4 separate regions of the Homo sapiens genome follow, and all the other regions are linked to region 4. The links are contacts of gene promoters, found by promoter capture Hi-C in blood cells and fetal thymus (Javierre and others, 2016). All regions are on one chromosome and are shown on one strand. Each heading gives the region's core, a stretch centred on a gene start or on the middle of the fragment in contact. The rest is flanking DNA. Distances are from core to core; before and after follow the strand shown. Region 1 has its middle 300 kb from the start of KCNS3. Region 2 has its middle 270 kb from the start of KCNS3. Region 3 has its middle 190 kb from the start of RDH14. Region 4 holds the start of KCNS3 (potassium voltage-gated channel modifier subfamily S member 3).

Region 1 (6,587 bases), core at 2,420-4,919, 300 kb before region 4:
ATCTAGCATTTGATAGCACAACAGGGTGACTATAGTCAATAGCAATTTAATTGTACATTTTTAAATAGCTGAAAGAGTATAATTGGATTGTTTGTAACCTAAAAGATAAATGCTTGAGGTGATGGATATCCCATTTACCCTGGTGTGATTATTGCTCATTGCATGCTTGTATCAAAATATCTCATATACCCCATAAATATATAAAATATATACACCTAGTATGTAATAACAAAAATGAAAAAAATATACCTCCCAGCGTTTGAGAATAAAAATTAACAGTAATAATTATGAAGCAATGTTTCAGATTCTTACGTAGCCTTATTGATTTACAAATGCTTGCTACAAACACCCAGCTACTGGTTTAACAGTTTATCTTATGTCTCTATTATCTTCAAATTAGAGGCCAGATCTGGATGGGTCCAGCTGGTGGGGCATGGATGACAAGGAGAAAAGAGCATCTGAGAAGGGCATATTGGCAGCCAAGTGAGATGCTGACAATGAATATATAAGACAGCTGCAGTGCAGGACTACTTAGAGTAAGAAGCAAAAAGGAGGTCATCTCAGAGTCATGACGAATGGGTCAAATTATATTTTCTTTGAGCTGATAATAAGAATGAGAAATGTGTGGTTAGGAATGATTTCTATCATAGATGAGATTTTTAAAAATTGTACTTAGCATGCTAAGTTTCTGCTTTCTGGTGTACCCATTTATGGAAATACCTATCTGTTATTGCTCCCACAAGAGGAGTCATCAGAACAGATGTTACTCTAACATTTATGAGCTGAGAGTTGGATATTGTGTTTAACTTTGATAGTTTTCATGTATCACCAAATGGAATCTCACTTTTTCAGAGTTAACTTCATCCAACACGATTCATTTTAAAAGAACAGAAATTTCCATTGTTTTTACAATTGTTGCTATTGTTTTAATTAACATTTTAATTTAAGTGGGCACATTTCACATATGGAACTCAATTCTCTTTCCAGTAGCCTAAGGGTTCTTAAACTGATGAGAAAAATCAAATCTATTTAATGTGGACAGGATTAAAGAGCTGTTACAATAATATTTTCCCAAGGGCTTTTGGTAAATTTAAAATATTAATTCTGGTTTTATCATATATATACATATTTTTTGAAATATATTTGGTAAATATATAAATTATGTTAAATAATAAATGGCAAGATGTATCTAAAAAAGGTTGTGTAGCATTAAGATTTATATAAAATGAAACATATGAAATGTAATATAAATACATACAACATAATGCCCTACATCTACTGCCCACCTACTTTGCAAACACTGCACTAGCCACTATAAGAGGAGGGTTACGCCAAATATTAAGAGGCTATTAAAAAACAAACATAATCAAGTAAGTTTGAGAAACATGAAGTTAAACAGAGTTAGAGCTCCCTTTTTAAAATTTTTTTCATAAGTTATTGGGGTACAAGTGGCATTTGGTTACATGAGTAAGTTCTTTCATGGTGATTTATGAGATTTTGGTGCACCCATCACCCAAGCAGTATGCACTGCACCATATTTGTAGTCTTTTACCCCTTGCTCCCCTCTCACTCTTCCCTCCAAGTCTACAAAGTCCATTGTATCATTCTTATGCCTTTGCGTCCTCATAGCTTAGCTCCCACATATCAGTGAGAACGTACAATGTTTGGTTTTCCATTCCTGAGTTACTTCACTTAGAATAATAGTCTCCAGTCTTACCCAGGTCATTGCAAATGCTGTTAATTCATTCCTTTTTATGGCTGAGTAGTATTCCATCATATATATATACTACAGTTTCTTTATCCACTCATTGATTTATGGTCATTTGGGTGGGTTCCACTATTTTGCAATTGTGGATTGTGCTGCTATAAAAATGCATGTGCAAGTATCTTTTTCAAATAATGACTTATTTTCCTCTAGGTAGATACGCAGTAGTGGGATTGCTGGATCAAATGGTAGTTCTACTTTTAGTTCTTTAAGGAATCTCCGCACTGTTTTCCATGGTGGCTATACTAGTTTACATTCCCACCAGCAATGTAGAAGTGTTCCCTGATCACCGCATCCACTCCAACATCTACTGATATTTTATTTTTTGATTATGGCCATTCTTGCAGGAGTAAGGTGGTATTGCATTGTGGTTTTGATTTGCATTTCCTTAATCATTAGTGATGTTGATCATTTTTTCATATGCTTGTTGGCCATTTGTATATCTTCTTTTGAAAATTGTCTATTCATGTCCTTAGCCCACTTTTTGATGGGACTGTCTTTTTTTACTGATTTGAGTTCATTGCAGATTCTGGATATTAATCCTTTGACAGACATATAGATTGTGAAGATTTTCTTCTACCTAGCTTTTCAGTGCATTCAGTGAGTTAATGCGAGTTGGAAAGCACTTAGAGAGGCCATAGTGAGTGTGCAACATTTCCCAAGCTTATTATATCATGGACCATTTCTCCCTGGAGGAGCATATTTTGGGACCAGGGTTTGGCAAATGATATACTGGGAACTCGCACTGCAAAGGATACCACAATGGTGAAATCACAGTCTCCTTCCACCGGAGGCTCATAGAGTAGATGATGAGACAAAGACCCAAATAACTATAATAAGAAGAAACTGCAAATATTCTAAGATACAAAGTTCTGAGTTCATCTCCCTGCAACATTTATTAAACATAAATGTAAGAGAACTGAGTTGATATTTTTTCAAGTTTGGATTACAAATTGTCTTTATTAGACTACCATTGAGGCAGGATATGGTGGCTCACACCTGTAATTCCAACACTTCGGGAGGCCAAGGTGGGAGGATCGCTTGAGCCCACTAGTTTGAGACCACCCTGGGCAACATAGAGAGACCCTGTTTCTACAAAAAATTTAAAAGTTAGCCAGGCATGGTGGCATGCACCAGTGGTCTCAGCTATTCAGGAAATCGAGGCAGGAGAATCGCTTGAGCCTAGAAAGTCAAGGCTGCAAGAGCCATGTTCGCACCACTGTACTCCAGCCTGGGTGACAGAGAAAGACCCTGTCTAAAGTAAATAAAGAAATGAATGAACTGCCATTGACTCTCTGCCAAGCATTTTACAAATATAATCTCACAAAAATATCTACAAGGAGAAAATTATTTTCTTTACTTTTCCTGAAACCGATGGTGAAAGAATTATAGTGTCCAGATTAGTCTTATACATCTGGTCCCCACAAGACCTAGGATTTGTTGCTGTGTCTGCCTGACTCCAGAGCTAGAGCTCTATCCATGCCCACCTGTAAAATGCTACTATTTTTCCATAAATTACACTTGCATAATTGAAGAATTACTGAATTATATGAAAGTTCAAAAATACCAAGAAATAATATTGAACCATTCAGGCAAGATCAAACGAAAATGCCTTTGCACTAAAGTTTAATGTTTAACTGTAAAAACAAAATAGAAGAAAACCTTTAAGTTCTATTTTCCAATGAAATACCTAAACAAGGAAAAAGGGAAGGCCATATTAATATAGTGATAGTCTGCTAATAGGAGAAAGAGAGAAGTAAAATGCACATATCAATGAGAGCCTAGTTCTATGTCCAGTCACCTTTCCAAACCTTGATCAAATTATTTTAATGTTTTTCACTTCTATGGTCTATTTGCTCTTTTTGAATACCAGCATCATATCTGAGTTTGGAATACCTATTTCTTTTCAGCTTATTCTCAAATAGAATAATTCATGAGATAACCTCACATATAGATTTCAAGTGTGCACTATGCCCATTTGCCTCTGCTAGGTCAGAATTTCAGTAACTTTGTTCATCAAGAGACTGGAAATCTAAATGTTAAATGTCTCCAACCACTCAAAGTCTATGCTTTAGTTTCTATGCTTCCAGTCCTGCTTCAGTTGATTAGGTTCAAAGTGGATGAAGGGGGTAAAAATTAAGGATTTGGGCATGGAAAGATTAATGGTACTTCAGTAGTCTTTACTGAATTAGAATTATAAATCTCCATTCAAAGCTAGCTTTCTTAATATGTTTGTAGCTACCACAGAGGTATTGTTTAAGATCTGCACTGGGAATGTATAAACTTCTATCCAAAATAATATGACTACAATGAGACCACAAATTCTAGTTCAGTGTTTCACACACAAACATACAAAGACACATAATCCTCTTAAAAATATGAGATTTAAAATTTTTGACCACAGCAAAGGATGTTTTATGGTTTTTCAAGCTGCCTAAATGTGAAATAAAACCAATATTAAAATATTGTAAAAAAAAAATCTAAAACCAATCAATCCGCAGTCAATAGCTTTTCGGTTCAATACTTTTCTAGAACCAGAGTAGGTTGTGGTGAAAGGAAGCTGAGAAAAAAGGGAATGAATTTAGCTTGAAAATTTGCTAAGATAACAAATTACCATATTCTCCAGAAACTTCACTGAAAATTAGCATTCTAGCCTTGATCCAGGGGAGGAAAAATGTACCACAGCTGCTTTATACACATCTATGTCTGTGTTCAGTAAAATATGTTAGGTACTTTAAATCTGCTTATGTAATGTTGGCAAACAGATATTTTCCCCATATTACAAATGTAAATGCTAATATAAAATTGATGCAAACTTTAGCTGAGGCATTATAGATCTTTGTGGTCTCCATTTCTGTGTGAATCCCTCTACATTTAGCTTCTCTGGGAGATATTTACAATCTCAGCTTCAACCAATGGGTGGCATCATGTGGCCTGCAATTGTGCCAAGGAAAATCAGCTAGAAAAATGCATTTTTTCTCCTGCTCAGTTAATTAAGAGGATAAGTAAATACCCAAAACATTGCAAAGAGCATGCTCCAAGGCTCACCTTCAACTTTACTTTTCCTGGGAAGCTGCCTCCTTCTTTTCACTTAATCTTAGCCAAAAGGCCGAGAAACGATGCTTCCTTCTTTTCTAAAGCTTTACCATTTTTCTAAAATTCTTAGATCTCTTTTTCCCCCAGACTCATTTATTCCTTATAGTCTACTCTCAAACCATTTCATGCGTGTCAGTTGTGCCCTCCCAGCTTCACTGGACATTCAAAGCTTCATCACTGTATTCTTAACCAGAGTCCTCCGTGCTACCTAGAACAGTCCTGGATGCATACGAGTCTCTGATGGCTGCTTTTTGGTTGATTCTCTACCCCAAGTTCCCTATCAAAAAGGAAGTCTCCCTACTCCTACAATCCCCACACACACATACAGAGGCAATCTAGCCTCCAGAAGAAGGTATTTCCCCATCACTTTTTTAAAATGTAGCACTGAAGTTAGATTTGGGGAGCATTCATGACGTGTCACTTTTATTTGTTGCATAGGTCACAGGTGTGTTTCATATGCTTATAGTGTGTGCACAGGTGCATACAAACACACACATTTCTTTTAGCATTCATGATGTCTAGACAGCATGTCCACCTTTGTAACTAAGCCCTGGTTTTCATCTTAAAGGAAAAGATCTTAGAAAAACACTAAACCAGAATTGTATTTTCCACCTAAAAACCATTCATTGTTTGGAAATCATCTCTCTCATCTCCCCATTCTGCTCATGATGCAAGTGCAGTCTCACGGCCTACACTTAGCTTATGGGCTCCATTCCAGACACGAGCTGACTCACCATACCCTTTCTGTTTGTAATTAATTTAAGAGAAATTTATCACACTTGAAATAACTAACAGAGAGAGCCAAAATCATTTGAACGACAGTGTTCTGGTTCTGTAGAAATAACAAATCTGACCCAAACAAAGATCAGGAATTAGGGATCCAGATGCCACATATCATCAGAGCCCTAGACCTCCAATTTTCATTTCCTGTCTTAATTTGCTGGCTGATCAAAGGAAAGTCCTCCACCCTGAACAGCCAAGAGGGTTCCTGGTATGCAGCTCAGCACTTCAGGCTCCACAAGTGGGTCAAGAGCCAGGTTCTTTTCTTGACTCCATTCCAGGGGTCAAGTGTTGCGCCCACCAGTGACTACTCAGCAAAGGATAAGAAAAAAGAAGGCAAATCACAGAGAATCTGAAGCCCGACAAATTGGAACCCATCTCTCCTGCGGCATTCAGTACCTTGCTGTAATATTTATACTGAGCTTGCTCTGTGCCAGGCATTGTTTCAAGTGCTTCACACATATTAACTCATCTAGACCTCATAACAACCCTATGAGGAAGGTGACATTACATTTGAAGGAACTGAGACACATAATATTGAAACCACATGGCAAGGGTCCATGGCAGAGGTGAGATTTGAATCCAGGCCCACTGGCTCCAGAGCCTGGCCCTTAACCGTCACACTTAAGTGGCTAAATAAATCCATGTGGTTTGGAGGAGAGAAAGCTGGTCAAATAGAGATCCAATCTCTATCTGGATCCAATCCTGTTGCAACCACACTACGAATTCAGAGAGCAGATGATAGAATTATACATTTTTAATAGCTTTCTTTGTCCAAGATAAAGACCCTTACTAGGGTATTCTTGAAAAATAATGAGGCCTTGCTCAGTTGTGGAGCCACAAGTGCTGGCTTGCATAGCACTGGCATTCCTGGCTGGCCAGGGTGGAGGGCTTTCTTCTGATAAGCCAGCAAATCAAGACAAGAAATGAATATCAGAAAGCCCAG
Region 2 (6,163 bases), core at 2,265-4,764, 270 kb before region 4:
TCACATGCTCCTGCACATCACACTGCTGGTCAGAATGTATGAGGTGGCACCTGTTTCCTGCCCTTTATCCTATTTGTTAATCTTTGTAAGGAGGAAAAAGATAATGGGCAGGTTTTATCAGGGAGGTATTGTCCCCTACACTCCTCTCTTTTCAGGTGGTGCTTTTCATCTTAACTCCTTTTTCCCGACTTTCCTGCATGTGACGTCCATCAGCTTTGCAAATGGCAGGCTTGCCCAAAGTTCCTCTGCTCCCCAAATTCAAACATCAGGGAATGTCCCTGCCCCTACACAGCTTCTATCAATCAGAAGGACAGCTGTACCCGATACTCAGATTAACCAGTTAAAATCATGGTCAGAGACCTTTAGCCTTCAGTGGCAGTTTTCTGTTCTCCAGATACTCTACAACTGGCCCAGATGCCGCATCGTTGAACATTCATGACTATGTTTGTGACAAGAAATGGGCACGCTCAGTGGGACTCTGCTGTCACCAAGGCCATCATACCCCTAAACCCCATCTTCACTGATAGGAATAGTTGTCCCTGGTGCATTCATTCCCTACAGCTGCTGTAACAAAGTACCACAAACTTGGTGGTTAAAACAGCACAATGTTCTGGGGATCAAAAGTCTCATATCAGTTTCAGAGGCCTGAAATCAAGGCACCTGCAGGGCCCTGCTCCCTCTGGAGGCTCCAAGGGCAAATCATTTCTGTGCCTTTCTCAGCTTCTAGAGCTGCATTTCTTGCATAACTGGCCTGTGGCTCCTCCCTCCATCCTCTAAGCCAGTGGTGTAGCATCTGACTTCAGTCTTCATGTTGCCTTTTACATCTTGTGATGGTTAATATAGAGTGTCAACTTGATTGGATTGAAGGATGCAAAGCATTGTTCCTGGGTGTGTCTGTGAGGGTGTTGCCAAAGGAGATTAACATTTGAGTCAGTGAACTGGGAGAGGTAGACCCATCCTCAGTCAGGGCGGGCACCATCTAATCACCTGCCAGCACAGCTAGAATAAAGCAGGTAGAAGAACGTGTAAAGACTAGACTGGCTGAGTCTTCTGGCCTTCATCTTTCTCCTGTGCTGGACGCTTCCTGCCCTTGAACATCAGACTTCAAGTTCTTCAGCTTTTAGACTCTTGGACTTTACACCAGTGATTTGCCAGGGGCTCTCGGGCCTTCAGCCACAGACTGAAGGCTGCACTGCCGGCTTCTCTGCTTTTGCGGTTTTGGGACTCATACTGGCTTCCTGGCTCATCAGCTTGCACATGGCTTACTGTGGGACTTCACCTTGTGATTGTGTGAGTCAGTCCTCCTAATAAACTCCCCTTCACATATTCATCTATCCAATTAGTTCTGCCCCTTTAGAGAACCATGACTAATACACACCTGTAGTCAAACTTCTCTCTGCCTCCCTTTTACAAGGACAATGTGATTCTATTTAGGGCCTATCTGGATAATCCAGGATAATCTCCCCATCTCAAGATCCCTAACTTGATCACATCTACAAAGTCCCTCTTGCCAAAAAGGTAGCATTTGTAAGTTGCAGGAACTAGGACTTGGATATTGCTGGAGGCCATTAGTCAGCCAACTACATTTGGTAACAAATGTCTGTTCTGTTAAAATGAGAAATCTCCTCTCCATTAAGTGACAAGTAGTTGTGAATGTTACTTTTACTTCCACTGAGTCCATAAAGGGGAAGCTTTACACTCTTGGCTTCCCATGGTAAAAAACATTCCTTAACATCTGGGCAGGCTTGAGTGGCAAGGCAGGTGCAGCCCTTTCCCATCTGCTCTCATGCCAGGTTTTCTGCCTTGAAAACAGGGTTAATGAAGCCTTGTCACAGCAAACAAAATTAGACAATGTGTCATAAGGACCTATTCCAGGGCTTGTAGACAATAAACACTGTCTCTCTCATTTGCCTTCCTGGCCTCTAATTTCTGTCTGTTGAAGACAGAGGTTGTTCAAGATGACCTCTAGGACCCAGCAGACCTGACACCGTGTCACTATAACCCCTCAGAAGATGGGGATGCCTTGCCCCTCTGCCCTCATTCTTTACAAGACACAATACATTGCCAGCCTGGCCCCTTCTATATTCCAATTGCACCTGTCACAGGGCCTGAGGTGACATCCTTCTTTCCAAGATCATAGGCTGACTTCTGTGTTAGCCTTCTTCTCTCTTTTCCTTTCTTCTCCTTCCTCCTCTGATCTTCTAGTCTCAGAAGTATTTGAAAGAGGAAGAGTAGAGATCTCTACTTCCATTCTTACGAGGGTTTTAAAAAACAAATTTTAAATGAAAAATCAACCAGCTTGAATAGGTAGATTGGCCGGCTAGAGATATGTTGTGTTTTTGCTTTGTTCTTTTTTCTGCCTTTCTGCTGATGCAACTCAAGCTATTCATAATTTTGGAAACTGATAGCACACACTTCAACAGAGAGACTACAGTGAGGAACAAATCATTTGTATTAAGTTGCATAAACTCTATCTTCCAGAACATCATCCTTATCTGTCCTCACAACGCTCAAGCTTAACTAGATGCTGAGGATCTTCTGGCTGCAAGGGATGAAATCAGGGCTTACCATATATTTCCTACATATCAAAAAGATACCTACACTCATAAGTCTATTGCAGCACTATTCACCATAGCAAAGATATAGAATCAATAGATTAATGGATAAAGAAAATCTGGTACATATACACAATGGAATCCTACCCAGCAATAAGAAAGAATAAAATAATATTCTTTTGCAGCAACATAGATGGAACTGGAGGCCTTTTTCTTAAGTGAAGCAACTCCAAAACAGAAATCCTTGTAATCTTCAATCCTGCCACCTAAATAACATGATCCTCATTTGTAAATGAGGACACAAGACTCAGAGTCATTAAAATACTTGTTCAGGACCCTACAGCTTAGTAAATGCAACATATGAATTGCTGTGGGTGCAAAAGCAGCAGATGGAGAGTCACAAGGCCAAGGCTCCACTCAGCTTCCCCACTCAGTCAGTGTGTGGCCATAGGAAGACCACTCTCCCTTTGGGACCCAGTTTTCTGTTCTGACTTTGCTCAGGGTGATCTCCAGGTCTCCTTCATAACCAGGGCTCCACAGTTATAATTCTATTATGATATGATGCAAACACAGAAAGAGAAAGGAAAAAAACACAGATCTACCTCAGGAACCCTCAGAAAATTTTTACTATGCATATCCCAGCCACCTCCCAGGGGATCTAGGGGAAAAAATGATTATACGCTATCTGCCTCCTAGGCTCAGAGGTACTAGGAGTATTTAAGGCAATAGGAAAATTAAAAGAAGGAAGGTTGAGAATGAAAATGTTGAGAACGGAGAAGAGAACAGAGAATAGAAAGGCCAAGAAACATGAAGAAAGGCCTTTACCAGGTCAGGGAGAGCCTGCAGCCCTGGCTACTCAGAACCCTCCCTAGAGCTAGCAGTGCTCTGACCTTAGAGCAAAGTCAGAGGTGTCTGTCTGGGTCTTCTCATGCCCATAAACAGGCATGCACACATATACACACATACACATGCACACAATCATAAAGACATTAATTCTATATAAACAGATTTCATATTAACTGGCAATCTTGTTTCTGAGACATGCTTTACAAATGATAGCAAAATGCATTTGTAAATTCTCCATGGGGGCAGAGCACTCTGTCCCTGGCTGCAGCAGTGGCAAATCAGACTGTGTCAAGAGAAGGCCTTGGTCATGGTAGAGTCGCCCAGCTGCCCAGGCCACATACACTCGCACCCTCCTCCCTCAGATAAGCAGGGACCTGTGACCTGCCTTCACTGGCTATCATGGAGAGGAAAATAGGAAGTGGGCAACCCATTCACCACATTAGGAGTGAGAATAGCCATGTTGACCAGGGTAGGGCTAAGTTCATGTTAAAGATCCTGTATGAGTTTGCTGGGGCTGCCTTAACAGAGTACCACAAACTGAATGACTTATACAAGAGAGATTCAATGTCTAAAGGTTCTGGAGGCCAGAAGTCCAAAATCAGGTTGTCGGCAGGGCTATGCCCCCTCTGAAGGTGCTGGGGAAGGGTATGTGCCAAGCCTCTCTCCAACCTTTTGGTAGTTCCTTGGCTTTGTGGCAGAATTCTAATCTTCACATGACGTTCCCCTGTGTGCATATCTCTGAGTCCAACCTTCCCTCTTTAATAAGAACACCAGTCATATTGGATTAAGAGTCCACCTCCTTAACTAATTATATCTGAAATGAGCCTTGATATGGTTTGGATCTGTGTCCCCACACAAATCTCATATTGCATTGTAATCCCCGGTGTTGGATGTAGGGACTGGTGGAAGGTGATTGCATCATAGAGATGGATTTCTCATGAAATGGTTTAGCACCATCCTCTTGATGCTGTTCACAAGATGGTGAATGAGTTCTCACGAGATCTGGTTGTTTAAATGTGTGGCACCTCTCCCTTCACTCTTTCTCTTGCTCCTGCTTCCACCATATGAGACATCTGTTGCCCCTCTGCTTTCCACCATGACGAGAAGCTTGATGGGGCCTCCTTAGAAGAAGCCACTGTGCTGCCTGTACAACCTGTGGAACCATGAGCCAACTAAATCTCTTCTTTTTAAATTATCCAGTCTCAGATATTTCTCCACAGCATTGCAAGAACGAACTAATAGAAGCCTGTTTCCAAATAAGGTCACATCCTGGGGTACTGGGGGTTAGGACTTCAACATCAATAATTTTAGGAGGATCCACTTCAACCCATAACAAATACCTTCCAAGGAATACAAACCACAACCCAGTTCTCTAACATAGGAAATAGAAGTTGCACTGGCTGATTTCTAAGGGCCATTTCAGCAGGATCATTTTACAATTTTATCTGGAGGCAGAATTCTATCACAAATTCTGCATATTACAATTATGTGGAGAAGCTTCTGAAAAACACCATCTCTGCCTTAGACCAATTAACCAGGCTTTCTAGGGGTGGGTAGAGTCTGGACATTTTAAGCCCCTAAGTGATTCTAATACATTTTGAGAACTACTTGTCTATAATATTTCCCAAGAACAGGCTGAGATTACATGGTAGGAGTCCAAACTATCATCCCATGCAAAATACACAAACTTAACCTTTTTCCACATAGGAATATATATAACAAAAGTAGTCACAAATGCTCATTATAGATAAGAAAGTAGCTATAATTCTGAGGCCAACCCCTAGAGTTTCAATCAAAATTCCTATTTTAGTGATAATGTGGAGTAGGTATCACTTTTTAAGACTCTCTGGCTGAGTTTAGTCTCCTTTGTCCTCGCCTGTTTCCTGGTAACGTAACATTGGTCCTATGTCCCTTTGATTGCATTTTAATTGACTGTCCTCCCCATAGGCAGTGTGCTCCCTAAGGGTTAGGTCTGTGCCTTAGTCATCATTCTAACAATTATGCCTGATACATGCATAGGAGATATTTTTGCATGAATAAATGAGTGAATTAATCAATGTGAAGACTCAGGATGGAAAGTTCAAAGCAAGAAAATTGCTTTAGTCATTTGGAAGCTTAGTCCTTTGGACTATATTGCTATAGTCATTTGGAAGAATAGCATATTTGCCATTTTGCCAATAAAGTGTTTATTTAATTTTATGACTTTGATTGAAACAATCCTCATTTGACACCAAAGTTAAGAACATAGTGAGTTCTGCTCTCTTCTTGTAAGACTATGGTTTCTAGCAAAAATACTCTACAAAGCAAATGAGTCAAGGCATCAGACACTTTTTCTAGAGACTAGTAGCTTTCTCCTTTGGAAATAAAGTAAGACCTCAGAGATTTATGGGAAATCACGAAGGATGTAAAGCAGAATTGCTTGTCAGGCAATATATTGCCATGATTTGAATATCCCTTCCAAAACTCATGTTGAAGCTTAATCCTCTAGGTGGCAGTATTGAGAAGTGGGCCTTTAAGGGCTCTGCCCTCATGAAAGAATCAATCCACTTACGAATTAACGGATTAATGGGTTAATGTATTATTGGGTTATCATGAAAATGGAACTGGTGCCTTTATAAGAAAAAAAAGAAATACCTGAGCTAGCACATTACATGCTTAGACCCTTCACCATGTGATAACCTGAACCACCTCAGGACTCTACAGAGAGTCCCCCACAAGCAAGAAGGTGCTTACCAGATGGCCCTTCAACCTTGGACTTCTCA
Region 3 (6,749 bases), core at 3,056-5,555, 500 kb before region 4:
AATGGATGGAGCATCTGGTAGTTTGTGATACAGAAAAAACACAACTATCAATAAGCATACTGGTATTACATATTTTAAAATCATGTTGCACTTTCTAGTTGGAAATACATTCTTTTGCAAAATTTCTTATCAAACATCCATGAAGTCCTTGAAGGTTTGCAGAAATTCCTCCTAATTCCATGGAAGAGATGTGCATGGCTGTATCACCTATGCCAGTGTCCAGAATAAGAGCCATTCTCCTCCTGACTCCTCATCCTTGGCCTTTGCCTCCCTTCGAGGGTCTCCTGGCTCCACAGTCTTCTTCGGTGAAGAGTTACCCCTATCCAACAGCAGAGGGCAGCAAAGCCTATATTCTGACAACAGAGATTTCCTTGACAGGGATTTTCAGTCTCAGGGCAAATAATTTCAAAGAACTTTGTTACTGAAGACTAAAGCTAATTAAATTATCACTCTGGAGTGAAGATTACCCAGAATTAGTAAAAAACAAAATTTGCATATATTAAGTATACTGACTCCTGGAATAAACCCGAAAGCACAAGGGTAAATCAAACCCAAGATATCCAATAACCTCAGGGCCTCATCTGAAATCTCTGAACCCAGGAGTGAAAGGAATTTGAGGTGAGGCTGTGGCTCCATGAGCTTTCCATCCTCCTTCCATTCAGTCCATTTGTGCTCCTCCCCAACTGATTGGACAAACGCCACTAGGAAGCAAATGTGACAAATCACAGTCATGGCTCCAAATGACCTCAGGAAAGAAGGAAATGTTCCTATTCATAAACATGTCTCCCAATTTATTTAGCATTTTTTAAAAAGTATTTGAAAAATATTTTATAACTTTTCCATATTTGCTTTGCACAGATTTGCACAGATTTGAATACCTTGTATTTCCTTACTTCACTTGCAAACTATGTATTTTATTGAAACTGCATGTTTTAAAACTATGGCTGGTGTATAAAATACAATTGTCTTTTATTAATATCAGAAAAAAATATAAATTATTAATGTAAGCAATTTTTATAGTTTTTTTGGCTTTTCTGTGAAAACAATTATATTACTTGAAGTTAATGATAGTTTACTTTCTCCTTTCCAAACCTCGTACTCCTGCTTTGTCTTATACTAGTTTATTGGCTAGAACAACCAGTAAATGGTTAAAATAAGAGTGGATAGCTGGTATCCTTGTCTTTCCTCATATCTTTGGGGGAATACTTTTAGTATTTTATCATTGAGCATGATATTTTCTGAAGGAATTCTTTAAAATACATAATTTATCCATTCGTAAGAGATTAATAATGATAAAATGTTTAATGTCTTCAAATATTACTTTAAAATTCATTGTGATGATTCCACAGTTTTCTTCCCTCTGTTTCTTAGTATGATGCAGTAGGCACATCGTCCATGATCTCATCCCTGGCAGCTGTGAGTTTGTTAGCCCACATGGCAAAAGGAACTCTGCAGAAGGGATCAAGTTTAAAGATGTTGAGGTGGGGATATCATCCTGGGTGATAGAGGTGAGCCCCGTCTAATTACATGATCCTTAAAAATGGAAGAGGGCGGGAAAGAGTGGGTCAGAGAGATGCAGTATTGGACTAACCCACCATTGTTGGCTGGGAAGAAGGAGAAAGGAAACCATGAGCCAAGGAATGCCATGGCCTCCCAAAGCTGGAATCAGCACACAGTTTATGGCCAGTAAGAGAACAGAGACCTCGGTGCTACAGCCACAGGGTACTGGATTTTGCCAACAATCCGAATGACCAAGGAAACAAATTGTCCACTGCAGCCTCCAGAAAATAATTCAGCCTCGTCGGCACCCTCATTTTAGTGCAGTGAGGCCTCCATCTGACTTCTGAGCTTCAGAACTATAATATGATAAATTTTCAGGATTTATTACATCAGTAATGGAAAACTAATACACATGGCAAATCACATGAAAAGATTTTCTATTTTGAACCAACCTTACATTCTTGGAATAAAGACAGCTTGTCATAAAGTATTAATTATCAATTTGTTATACATCGTCCAATTCAGTTTGCCAAGAGTTTGTTTTGGATTTTCCTCTATCATTAGAAGTGGCCTGGCACTTTCTTTCCTTATACTGTTCTTTTCAGACGTTTCTATCAAAGCTATCCTGATCTCAGCGTTAGGGAGTGTTCTGTGTTACACATCCTAAAATTGGTTGCTGTGGGACTGCAATTCTTTCTTCTATCAAAGCTTTGTAGAATTAACCTGTTTATTCATTTGCACCCTGTTTGATCCTTGTGGGAAGACCTGAAGCACTGATTTAATTTTTTAATAGTTATAAAACCCTGCAGTTTTTCTATATATTCATAAGCCAGTTTTTATTATTTATTATTAGTATTCATTTTATTTGGCTGTATATGACAAAACAAAACAACTTTAAAAAACAGGCCCCTGCCCTTCAATGTATGTAGTTTCACTTACACAAGATAAATAAATTCTAGAGCTCTGCTCACAATATTGTGCCTACAATTAACAACATGGCATTGTGCACATAAACATTTGTTAATAGAGTAAATCTCATCTTAAATGTTCTTGTCATGATCAAAAAAATAAGGCTTAAATAAAATAGAAATTAATTTCTCCCTCACATAAACATAAACTCTCCAGGACTGGTATAGTAGCTTTGCGATGGGTAGAGCCCTAAGTTGTTTCTTCCATGTTTGCCCTAGAGTTTCCAGGATACACTCACAACCAATCTTAGTCCATTACAAGCATCACTATAGCACTTCCTGGGTAGTGCCAGTGCCTTGTAACAGAGTATTCTCAGTGTCTCTCTTTCATCCCCAATACCCTTGCTGTCATTTTTCTCATGTATTCGTATGCTATAATGATGCAACACATTGCTAGCTATTAATACTCTAAGGAATTAATTAAGAATGAGGAAAATAAAATATTTTATTTTACCTTCATTTATCCCTTCTCTGATTTTTTTTTTATTCTTTATGTGGACCCAGGTTTCTAACTTCCATAATTTCCCTTCTTTCTGAAGAACTTCTTTTAACATTCCTTTCAAGGCAAGTCTATTGCTCACAAATTCCCTCAGTTGCTGTTTGTCTGAGAAAGTCTTTATTGTTCCTTTACTTTTGAAGGAAAATTTCTATGGATAATAATTGTAGCTTGGTGGGTTATTGTCACACTTTAAATATTTCACTCCAGGCCGGGTGCGGTGGCTCACGCCTGTAATCCCAGCACTTTGGGAGGCCGAGGTGGGCAGATCAGAAGGCCAGGAGATCGAGACCATCCTGGCTAACACAGTGAAACCCTGTCTCTACTAAAAAATACAAAAAAATGAGCCGGATGTGGTGGCAGGCACCTGTAGTCCCAGCTACTCGGGAGGCTGAGGCAGGAGAATGGCGTGAACCTGGGAGGCAGAGGTTGCAGTGAGCCGAGATCGCGTCACCGCACTCCAACCTGGGCAACAGTGCAAGACTCTGTCTCAAAAAAAAAAAAAAAAATTTCACTCCACATTTTTCGTCCTTGAATGCTTCTTGAATAGAAGTCTTATGCGATTTGTATCCTTGTTTCTTTTAAATAAGGTGTTTTTATTTTAGGGCCACTTTCATGATTTTCTCTGTCTTTGGTTTTCTGTAATTTGTATATGGTATACCTAGCTATAGATCTTTCAGCATTTATCTTGCTTGGTGGTCTGTGAACTTTCTAGATTAGGGGTTGGGTGTCTGGCATTAATTTTGGAAAATTCTCGGGCATTATTAACTCAAATATTTCTTCTGTTTCTTTTTCTCTTTCTGGTATTCCCATTATATTCATGTGATATCTTTTGTAATTATCCCACAGTTATTGGATATTCTGTTCCATTTTTCATTTCTTTTTTCTCTTTGCATTTCAGTTTGACATCTTTTCAAGCTCACTGACTTTCTTCAGCCATGTCTAGCCTACTGATTAGCCTAGCAAATAAATTTTTAAAAGTCTTCTGTTACAGTGTTTATTTCTAGCATTTCCTTCTGATTCTTAAAGTGTCAATCTTGCTTCTTAGATTAACCATCTGTTCTTGCATATTGTCTGCTTTTCCATTAAAGCCCTTAGCATATGAGGGGACTTCAAAAGTTTATGGAAAATTTGAATTCAACAATAAAAATAAAAAATATAAGCTTTGTTTTCTAACATAAACTCCATCAAGGTCCAGACACTTTTGTAAGCAATGATACCGGCCACTTAGTCTATCAATAAAAAACTAAGGGCCCTGGGAATTTAACCATGCCAATGTAGTCTATTTACTTTTTTAATTGAAGAGAAATGGGTGCCCTTTATAGGTATTTTAAGAGTAGGAAGCAAAAATATGTCAGAAGGAGCCAAATAGAACTATAAGCTGGGTGCCTACAAATTTCCCATCAAAACCCTTGCAAAACTGCCCTTATTTGATGAGAGGAATGAGCATTGTCACTGTGGAGTAGCACTGCAGACAGTAGCATTGTCATGGTGGAGAAGGACTCTCTGGTGAAGCTTTCCCAAACTTTTTTTTTTTTTTTCTTGAAGCTTTGGCTAACTTTCTCAGAACATTCTCATAATAAGTAGATGTTATCATTATTTGGCCCTCCAGAAAGTAAGCAAGCAAAATGCCTTTAGTATCTCAAAAAATTGTTGCCACGACCTCTGCTCTTGACTGGCCCACTTTTGTTTTGACTGGACCATTTCCACCTCTTGGTAGCTATTGCTTTGATAGTCCTTGGTCTTCAAGATCATACTGGTAAAGCCATGTTTCTTCTCCTGTTACAGTTTGTCAAAAAATGCTTCAGGATCTTGATCTCATTTTTAAAAATCCATTGAATGCTCTGCTCTTACCGCAGCTAATTTGGGTGCAGTGGTTTTGGCAACCATCAAATAGAAACCTTGCAGAACTTTAATTTTTCAATCCCAATTGTGTAAGCTGAACCAATTGAGATGTCTATGGTGTCAGCTATTGTTTCTGCTGTTAATTGTCGGGCCTCTTCAATTAGGGTATGAATAAGATTAATTGTTTCCTCTCAAATTGATGTGGATGATCTGCTGTGGGCTTCATCCTCAACATTGTCTCATCCCTTTTTAAAATGAGTTGTCCATTTGTAAACTGTTTTCTTTGGAGTACTGTCCCCATAAACTTTTTGTAAAGCACTAGTGACTTCACCATTCTTCCACCAAAGCTTCACCATAGATTTGATGTTTATTCTTGCTTCAATTTTAGTAGAATTCATGTTGCTCTGATAGGGGCTCCTTTCAAACTGATTCTTATCCTTCTTCGAGTGCCTCAGGCTAGATCCTGTTCTGACATGTTGTAAAAAGCCATTATGAGTTTATTTTGGTACAGGCAATTTTTGGAATCCATGCACAGTTTTCTCATAATATGCATTTTTTGTGAGCTTTTTGAAGTCCCCTCATATTAAACATAGTTATCATAATTTCCCTATATAATGATTCCAAAAGCTGTCTCATCTCTAAGTCTGCTGCTTGCTTTCCCTCTTCTTGTGTTTTTCCTTGTCTTTCAGCATGCCTTGCAATTTTTAATTGAAAGTGGGCATGACATATTGGGTAATAGGAAATGAGGTTAATTAGGCTTTTAGTGTAAGGTTTTATGTTAATTTGGCAAGGAGCTTCAGTGTATTTATTTGTTGTAGTTTCAGGCTCCAGAGGTTTTGGTATCCTCCAGCTTCCTTGTATATTTTGTTTTTTTTTCTCCTCTGTTGTTTGGGTTTCCCTAAGAACTTCTTCATAAATACAGTCCATGGCTTGCTGTTCTCTGTTGTAATTCATTTTTATTATACTGGAGTCCTGTTTATGTTATGGTAAGCTGCTGAGAAAGAGAAGCATTGTATATTCTTATGATTAAATCTCAGTTTTTTAGTGGGCCTGAGTTTCCAGGCTGTGAGCTTTAGAAGCATTTCTTGGGCTTTTTTTTCCCACCCTTGCATGAGACAAGAAGGCTAGAGAGGTCGGAAAATGTCTAATTGCCTTTCCCCAAGATGTGAAGCAGTATATTGCCCTAGAGGACAGGCTATTGTTACACAGAATTCTCTGATAATATTTCAAAATGGCTTCTTTTTTGTTGGATGTATTTCAGAATGTATTTTTACCCACTCCTCCTGCCTGCAACATAGGAGATATTTCTCTGATCCTCACTTTGAGAACCTGGTGGGTGTTCTGGTGGCAAACCAACCACCCAACCACCCAACCACCTGTTAGGTGTTGGGGACCACCTAACACTGGGTTCTTTAGGAGCATTCAAGTATCAAGCTAGTATACTCTCTACCTTTAGCAATTCATGAAAATTATTGTTTAGGTGGTCCTACCAGTTACTGAGTGCAGTTCCTTCCACTCTTGGGCTAATCTTGGCTGTGGTTCTTCATATGTGCCAGTCTCTCCAAATGTCAGGGTAGTAGTTTGCCCTGTGATCTTAATCCTCTGATGGATCACAGAAATGACATGGATTTTTAGTTTGCTTGGCTTTTCTTCTTCTTGTGATGACTAGAGTGATGACTTCCAAACTGTTTACATGCTGAAGTTGAAATCAGAGGTCATACTTTTCCTATTCAATCTGACAATCTCTGTCATTTGATTGGAGTGTTCAGACCATTTATATTTAACGTGCTTATCCATGTGGTTGGGTTTAAATATATCATGTATAAATTTTTAAAATTTAAACCATGTCTTCTTTGCTCCTTTTTCCCCTTTTCTGACTTCTTTGAATAAATTATTTTTGTAATCAATTGTATCTCTGTCTTGGTTTATTAACTATACCT
Region 4 (6,709 bases), core at 2,896-5,395:
AAGAAAAACAGGGATGAAAATTCTAAATCAGTTTCTACATTTTGTTGTACATTTTAAGCCTTGTTATTATGTTCATGATAATTGAGTATTCACTCCAGGCTTCACAAAACAGCAGGCCCCTGAAACAATAAAACAACAACACTCTTCTCCTCTTTCTCCTCCTCCCCAGCTTGTACTTACTCCCCATCCCCTGCCTCCAATAAGCACCCACAGTAGTCAAGACCAGCAAGCAAAGGCCAGGTCCAGGATGAAATTCAAACTCAGTTCCCCACTCCCCAAGGACTCTCGATAGCTCACTCCCTCCTGTTCTGCTCTCTAGCTCCAGAGAGAAGTGAGGCAGAAAGATGCTGGACTTAAAGTCAGAAGACCCCTGACTGTGTCCAAGTTCAAGGCTCAGTTTGCCTTAATTTCTTCATCAGCAATATGGGCTTCCTAACTTCTGTCCCACCTATAGCTTATAACTCTCAGTTGCTCTGAGGACTGGAATGAGATATCCCATGTGAAAGTTCCTACAAACCACAATAGGTTATACAAATGTGACCGAGTCATTGTGATTTTTATCAGGACTTAAACATTTAGCATCTTGTATTGTTCTATCTTGTCTCACTGATCTGGAGTCTCCAGATCCACTATAAGTTCAAGCTCAGAGACCATGTCATAGATTCTGCCTACCTTCATTGCCTGTAGTACTGGGCACTTAGCACCCATACAATAAGCACTTGTGAATTGGTCACTGGTTGATTTACTTGACAAATTTGCGTCGGAGTACAAAGTGTTCTGTGGTTTTTCTGAATTTCTTATATTGATAAACACATTTTCTGAAACTCACCATAATGTTTCCCTGGCCCATGATCTTTATGGTTTATCTTCCTTTTTTCCTAACCAGCTGGGCAGAATTTCACCGAAAAGCAGACCATTTTGTCAAAGGCAAAAATAATATTTTGCTAACGCAGTCTTTGAGATTCCTTTTAAGGCTGAGACATGGGACCCAAAAGTCACTTGGTAACTGTAAGCCCCCTCTGTCACTGTTCAACAAATGTAGTCCGAGATCCCACTAAGCACAGGGAACAGTGTTGGAACTGTAGGAATAAATGAGGAAAACTGAATCTCACAGTGGCTCTGCAGTCAGACTGCAAGGGATAGAATCCTAGCTTCACCTTTTCCGGGCTGGGTGACCTTGTACAAGTTACTCAGTTTGTCTCTCTTTCCTCCTGTAAAATACGGTGATAATAGAACCTACCATCCTAAGATTGTCATCAGGATGAAGTGAGTTCATACATGTAAAAGCTTTTAGCTTTTAGTGCCTAGTACAGCGTAACAACAAATATTAGAGATCTAGGTCAGTGCAGCTAAACAGACCAAGACCCAGATTAGCAAAATGACATGTCAAGTCAAGGAGCCATAAAGAAATAGATATCACAGCTGGAAACTGGGTCCCCACATCCTATTCTCTTCTCTATGATGTTTCTTTGTGGGTATTTCACACAGGTGGCACTCTGGAAGATGCACTTTCCTGACACCTGATAAGCAGAGTCAATAAACACACCCACCTTCTCTGCTTCAACATACCCTGCAGAGTCGTCCTTCCTCCTAGTGAGACCTCAGGCCCACCATTTCCCACTGGCCTCCCATCTGACTCAACATGCACCTGGGGGGTTCCATCTACTGCTGGCTCCCACAGCAATACTGCAGTGAAGAAAGCAAGCATCACATCCTCATGCAGTTGTTATGGGAATTAAATGAGATAATGCCTGGAAAAGTGCCTAGCAGAGTATCTGATATATAGTATGCAGCTAATAAATGTTATCTATTAAAAAATAGAAGGAAAAGGAGGAGGAAAACCCTGTGGTGCCTACTCTCTCAAAGCTGACACACATTCCAATGGCAAATGCCAGACACAGGGCAGATTGAGATGGGTGGTAGAACAGAGGGATGCACGTCTGTGAAGAATTACAGTGAAGGGCAAAACCCACTGAAGACAGGAGGGAGCTGCAGTTCCCACTCTCCCCCTTCCTTCTTAAAAGAAGATGATGATACTCAGTTGGTGCTTTGCTGGCAAACTCAAGCTCCAGAGCTTTGGATTTTTAATATTATAATATTTCAGAACAGAACAAAGACTGCTTCTGACCTCCCAATTTGCCCTCATACACTTGACCAGCAAAACCTTAGCGTAGCTGCATTCATCAATGGCTCTATTCAGGCAATTATGGGTCAGACAAAAGATTCAATTAATACTGATCCCGCAAGTCTCCTTAGTATATTCACAACATGCTTTGGATTCAGAGTTCTATGGCACCTTCATATGACCTTCTCCGGATCCCAATATTGACAATTCCTAGTTCAGAAACGACAAACATAATATTAGAACAAGAGAAGAAGGGAAGCTGGTGAGAAAGAAAGAACAGACTAGACTGGGTGCAGAAATTATATCATCCATTTGCTGTCTGTCCCCGAGTGCATCCTGGGGCCTGGCCCATGGCGGGCTGGTTGGAAATGCATACTGAACGAGTCAATCTCCTCAAGAAGGTCACCACCCAGGTAAGAAGTGGAGCCTGCACATTACACCAAGTTCAGCTAGAGAATCAAAGCCACCTCTTCGGCTCCAGATATGCAGGGAAGACAAAGCACGAGGGCATATGCCTTCAGCTAAGAGATAGGTGCGTGCTTCCTGTTTACCTGGGCAGGTATTTGCAAATAGTCTAAGAAGGGGGGCAACTAGGAGTGACTTACACAGTTCCAAGTGAATGGTTACGCAAATCGCTTGAGTAAATACAGGGAAAGAAACAGGAAAGGCTTCTGAACTGTTTGTACTCATCTGCTCCAGTATTTTCAGAGGGTAGGGTGAAAGACAAAAAACCCGAACGAAGGCTCCGGGCCAACCACAAAGCTACTCTCCGGCAGGAACGTAAGGAACACCTACCGCCCCTCCCCCCACTTCACGCCTTGGCACCAAACCAGGGCCCCTGGGTCATTTTGGCAGGTGGAGGTAGCTCTTTGCTGTCCTCTGCCCCTGCTGCGGGCCACCCGAGTGAAGCTTTCGGCTCGGTCTCCCCAGACAAAACCGGGGGGAGACATCAAGAATGCAAAAGGTGCTCCTTTCTCCAAATGAACGAGAAGGGACAGAGCGGGGTTGGGGGTGCAGGACAAGCCCTGCAATGCGAAAGGCGCCCAGCCAGGCTCGCCGCGGCCCCTGCCGGCAAGACTGGCTCGCTTGCTAGCCAAGGTGCCTCAGGAGGTCGGGCAGCCACCCAGAAAGGCGCGAAAAAAAAAAGAGGAGTTCCTGACCCCGGGGTGACCCTTCCCCACCACTGCCACTGATCCAAACGCAGAGTCCGCAAGTGACTCCACACCTGCGCTGCAAGCCTCACGCCGTCCCCACCCAGGGCGCAGCGCTGCACGAGAGCAAGGGCCCTGGGTTCGCTCTTCCCTGCAACTGTCGCGGGGCGCCTAGCACAGCTGCAGGGCAAAGGGGAGGGGAGGAATGACAAAGAAGGCGGAGCAGACGGCCCGGGAAGCATTTACAAGCGCCAGGAAAGCGCCTCCTCTCGAGGAAGGGAAGGAACGGCTTCCCGGCCAAGGAAACGCCCCGGGGATGCCCCTACGCGAGGTGCCGCCTTTCTTCGGCTCATCGATTCTCCCGCCTCCAGGTGGTCCTCCCCCTGACCATAGCCCACCCCACTCCCCGAAAGCTGATCCTAAATACCTTCCCCGAGGCTTTCAAATCAACCCAGCCACCGCTTCAACAGCCCGCAGTTCACGCAACAGGCGGAGCCTTAGGGCTCCAGCGACGGCGGGCTCTGGGGACCAGAGGATGCGGGCGCCGCGGGCCAGACGCCCAGAAGGACGGAAAGTGCTCTGCGGCCGTAGACCCTCGGGGTCGTGCACCCGCGACCTGGACCACAGGAGACTGGGGCAGCAAAAGGTGGGGGAAGGCGCGGTAAAGTTGCAGGGTCGCCCGGAGAAGTCTCCGGAGCGCGCAGGGAGGTGGGGACGCCAGCCAGGTACCTGCAGGAGTCCGGACGCATCCAGCTAGCTCCGCTCTGCGACGCCGCCTGCCCGCGCTGCAGGGATCAGGCCTCGCGGCGCGGCCCCGCGCCTGCCGCCGCGGCGGCGAGGAGAGCGGGGTGGCCCGCGTCGGCCGGTCTGTCCGTCGGTCCCGCCCCGCTAGAGCGAGGCTCCCGGGAGCTGCGGGCGGGGCGGGGCCGGACGGGACGGGGCGGGGCCCGCCGCTCGGCCGCCGCCCCATTGGTCGCAGCTCCGCCAGCCCCTCGCTTCGGGCCCGCAGCCGGGCGCCCCGGGCCGAGGGCGCGGGCGGCTGAGGACTGCGGGGCTCCGACCGCCAGACAGGCGGACAGACCCATAGACCTAGATGCTGCCCTGCCGGCCGCGCGCCCCCGCCCAGGCCCAAGTGCAGAGTCACCCCGGAGCGGCAGGCGCTGTCCGGGTGGGACCAGGAGCGCGCCCCGCGCCTCCCACCTGCGCGCCCTCCTGGGCCGGAAGCGCCGTGGCCCTGCGGGAAAAAGATGACCTCCCCCGCGGCCCCGGCGGCTGGGGCAACCGCCTTTCTAAAGTCGCGGCCCAAGCGACACTTTGCTAATTTGCCTGGATTTCCTCAGGAAATCGCGAGGCCCAAACTTGTTTTAAAACAAAGTGCGAAGGAGAGTACATATAGCTCCAGTTCCTGCCAATGTTTGCCATCGGTCCCGCTGCCTGAAGACTCAGGCACAGTGCAGAACAAGATGCTTTGTCTTATTCCTCCACTCACCGAGTCAGAAGAGGTGCTTGGACATTTGCACCAAGCAGATGCGCCTCATATGTAGAAGAGGAACCAGTCGGGTCCCCTTTCGGAAGGACGAATGGAAGAGGAAGTCAGGGGACGATGCCTTCAGCCGACGTTGAGGAACAAACCAGGACCTCGGCGAGGACAGCGTGTGGTCCAGAAGGCATCGCTGGCCTCGCTGCACTGAGCGAGAGCGCTCAGTTAACAGCCAGGAGGAGAAATGGGACGCTTCGGGACCCACCCCCGCGCTCCCCCTCCCGCCCCCAAACTGCAGATTTTTAAGTTGTGCAGACGTGGAACAATTCCTCGGAGCCAGCTGCTCCAAGCTAAGGCGCCCAGTGTTCCCTGGGTTCCTACCCGCAGCATACGCCCTGCCAGCTGCCCCCAAGCCAGCACCCGCTGACCACTCACCTCAGGCAAGCACCTAGGAAGACGATGCAGATTCAAGCTCCAGACCTTGAGCCAAGCGCTGGGGAGGGAATGGGGGCAAAGAGATGGTGGAAAACACTTTCCTGAACTTACTGAATACCCTATGTTATGTGTGGGTTTTCTAATTGTTCTTTGCTTAATGAAAAACCCACGTTGGAAATCAGAAAAAGGCAGTAATCCTCACCGTATCTTGTGGGCTTCAAAGAGGAGGTTTTCCCCTTAAAGGGAGTTTTGGTCCAGAGGAGAGGCTAACAGCAGGCAGGAAGGGCAGAGGAAAAGATAAAGCCTAGGGTGGTCTTCCCCCTGAGGCCTGGAGCCCACCAAGCTCCAACAGTTTCATTTGGCTTCTGGGAAGCAAAGTACAGATGCATGTGTCTGCAGAGCACTGTTCTGAGCCATTTGTCCCTAATTCCATGGTTCTTTGGTTCCTCCAATCTTGTCTCCTCTCCTGTGGAAGAGGATCCAAAGCATTGGTCCACACTGCTATTTACAAGTGGCTGAAGAAGGTAACTTTCTTACATAGTTCATCTTTAGCATAAGCTCTAAGATTGTTCTAAAAATATATTTACATTTTATCAACACCTTAGAAGAATGCTTCCAGATCTCTCCCAGCAGTTACCTATTTAATCATTTTAAAATCACTAAGTTTATCCAAAAAGTCCAGCATGGTTTACTTGAGAAGGAAATATGTTCAGAATCTCTAAGCACTGCAGAAGGCACCTGCAGTGCAGAAGAGTTGGCAGTGAGGTCTTTCTCCTGGGGTCTGGGCGGAACATGTGAGCAGTCGGGAAGGCACACACAGTGGGAGCCAGTAAGGGCCCCTGTGCATCTGCAGGAGCTGAGGACAGAAGGGGTGGGCCTCCACGGTGGGCATGTAGGAGTGGGCACAGAGAAGGGCCACAGATCTGAGACAGAGACAGACAGGACTTCTTACCCTGCTGAGCCCTGCAGGGAGCCACTTCGTCTTTCAGCCCTGATTTTGTCATCTGTAAGGAAATTTCCTCTCTCCCAGGGTAATCATGTGAAGCCAATGAAATAATAAAAAGGACCACATCGGATGACCCCTGAGGCAGGTCTGCTCCCCAAAAGTTTACTCTTGAATGTTGACCAAGGTTGAGCTAGGCAAAGTGGTAAATTCACACACACGGTATGTAGCCCCTTCCCCAACCCCAGTCTCCATTACCGGGGGCATGCTGTGAACTAACTGCCTCCTTTTCCCCACACACCCACTTCCTGCCCAGTCTTTATGCCTCCCGATATGACATCCCGTTCCCTCTTAATTAACTGTGCCTATAGAGAAACATCTAGATAAACCATGCATTTAATCTGTGAGGGGTCAATCATTTAATCATCGTTGACAATAATGCTCACTCCTCTGTGGTTTCAGAGGACTCCTGGAGTGGATGGAGACACATGCCACTAATGTGGGATGCATTTCAGTCTGTCTTCCAGGCCTCGTTTGGAGGTCTCCCTCTCTTACCCACCTATCACACATCCATG

The links. Contacts are between HindIII fragments. The CHiCAGO score rates a contact against its expected background, and 5 or more counts as called.
Region 1: a fragment that was not itself captured here is called in contact with the fragment with the promoter of KCNS3 in region 4 in 2 of 17 cell types (megakaryocytes and M0 macrophages); the score reaches 5.4 in megakaryocytes.
Region 2: a contact is called between a fragment that was not itself captured here and the fragment with the promoter of KCNS3 in region 4, in 4 of 17 cell types (fetal thymus, megakaryocytes, M1 macrophages and 1 more). The highest score is 6.9, in fetal thymus.
Region 3: a fragment that was not itself captured here is called in contact with the fragment with the promoter of KCNS3 in region 4 in 1 of 17 cell types (endothelial precursors); the score reaches 6.1 in endothelial precursors.

What each region holds. Positions count from the first base shown.
Region 1 is chr2:18,170,913-18,177,499 of GRCh38, reverse strand. No RefSeq gene overlaps it. Among named protein-coding and RNA genes, the nearest start is that of KCNS3, 300 kb to the right of the region's middle. The HindIII fragment of the contact is 2,477 bases long and covers 2,431-4,907 here.
Region 2 is chr2:18,149,587-18,155,749 of GRCh38, reverse strand. No RefSeq gene overlaps it. Among named protein-coding and RNA genes, the nearest start is that of KCNS3, 270 kb to the right of the region's middle. The HindIII fragment of the contact is 1,993 bases long and covers 2,518-4,510 here.
Region 3 is chr2:18,371,816-18,378,564 of GRCh38, reverse strand. No RefSeq gene overlaps it. Among named protein-coding and RNA genes, the nearest start is that of RDH14, 190 kb to the left of the region's middle. The HindIII fragment of the contact is 352 bases long and covers 4,130-4,481 here.
Region 4 is chr2:17,876,103-17,882,811 of GRCh38, reverse strand. KCNS3 (potassium voltage-gated channel modifier subfamily S member 3) reads right to left here and starts at 4,145. Exons shown (of 3, transcript NM_002252.5): 1 at 4,006-4,145. It overlaps LOC124907737 (a long non-coding RNA gene), which reads left to right and starts at 6,250. Exons shown (of 2, transcript XR_007086226.1): 1 at 6,250-6,709. RefSeq lists silencers at 4,025-4,074, 4,165-4,364, 4,375-4,534. The HindIII fragment of the contact is 4,070 bases long and covers 3,037-6,709 here.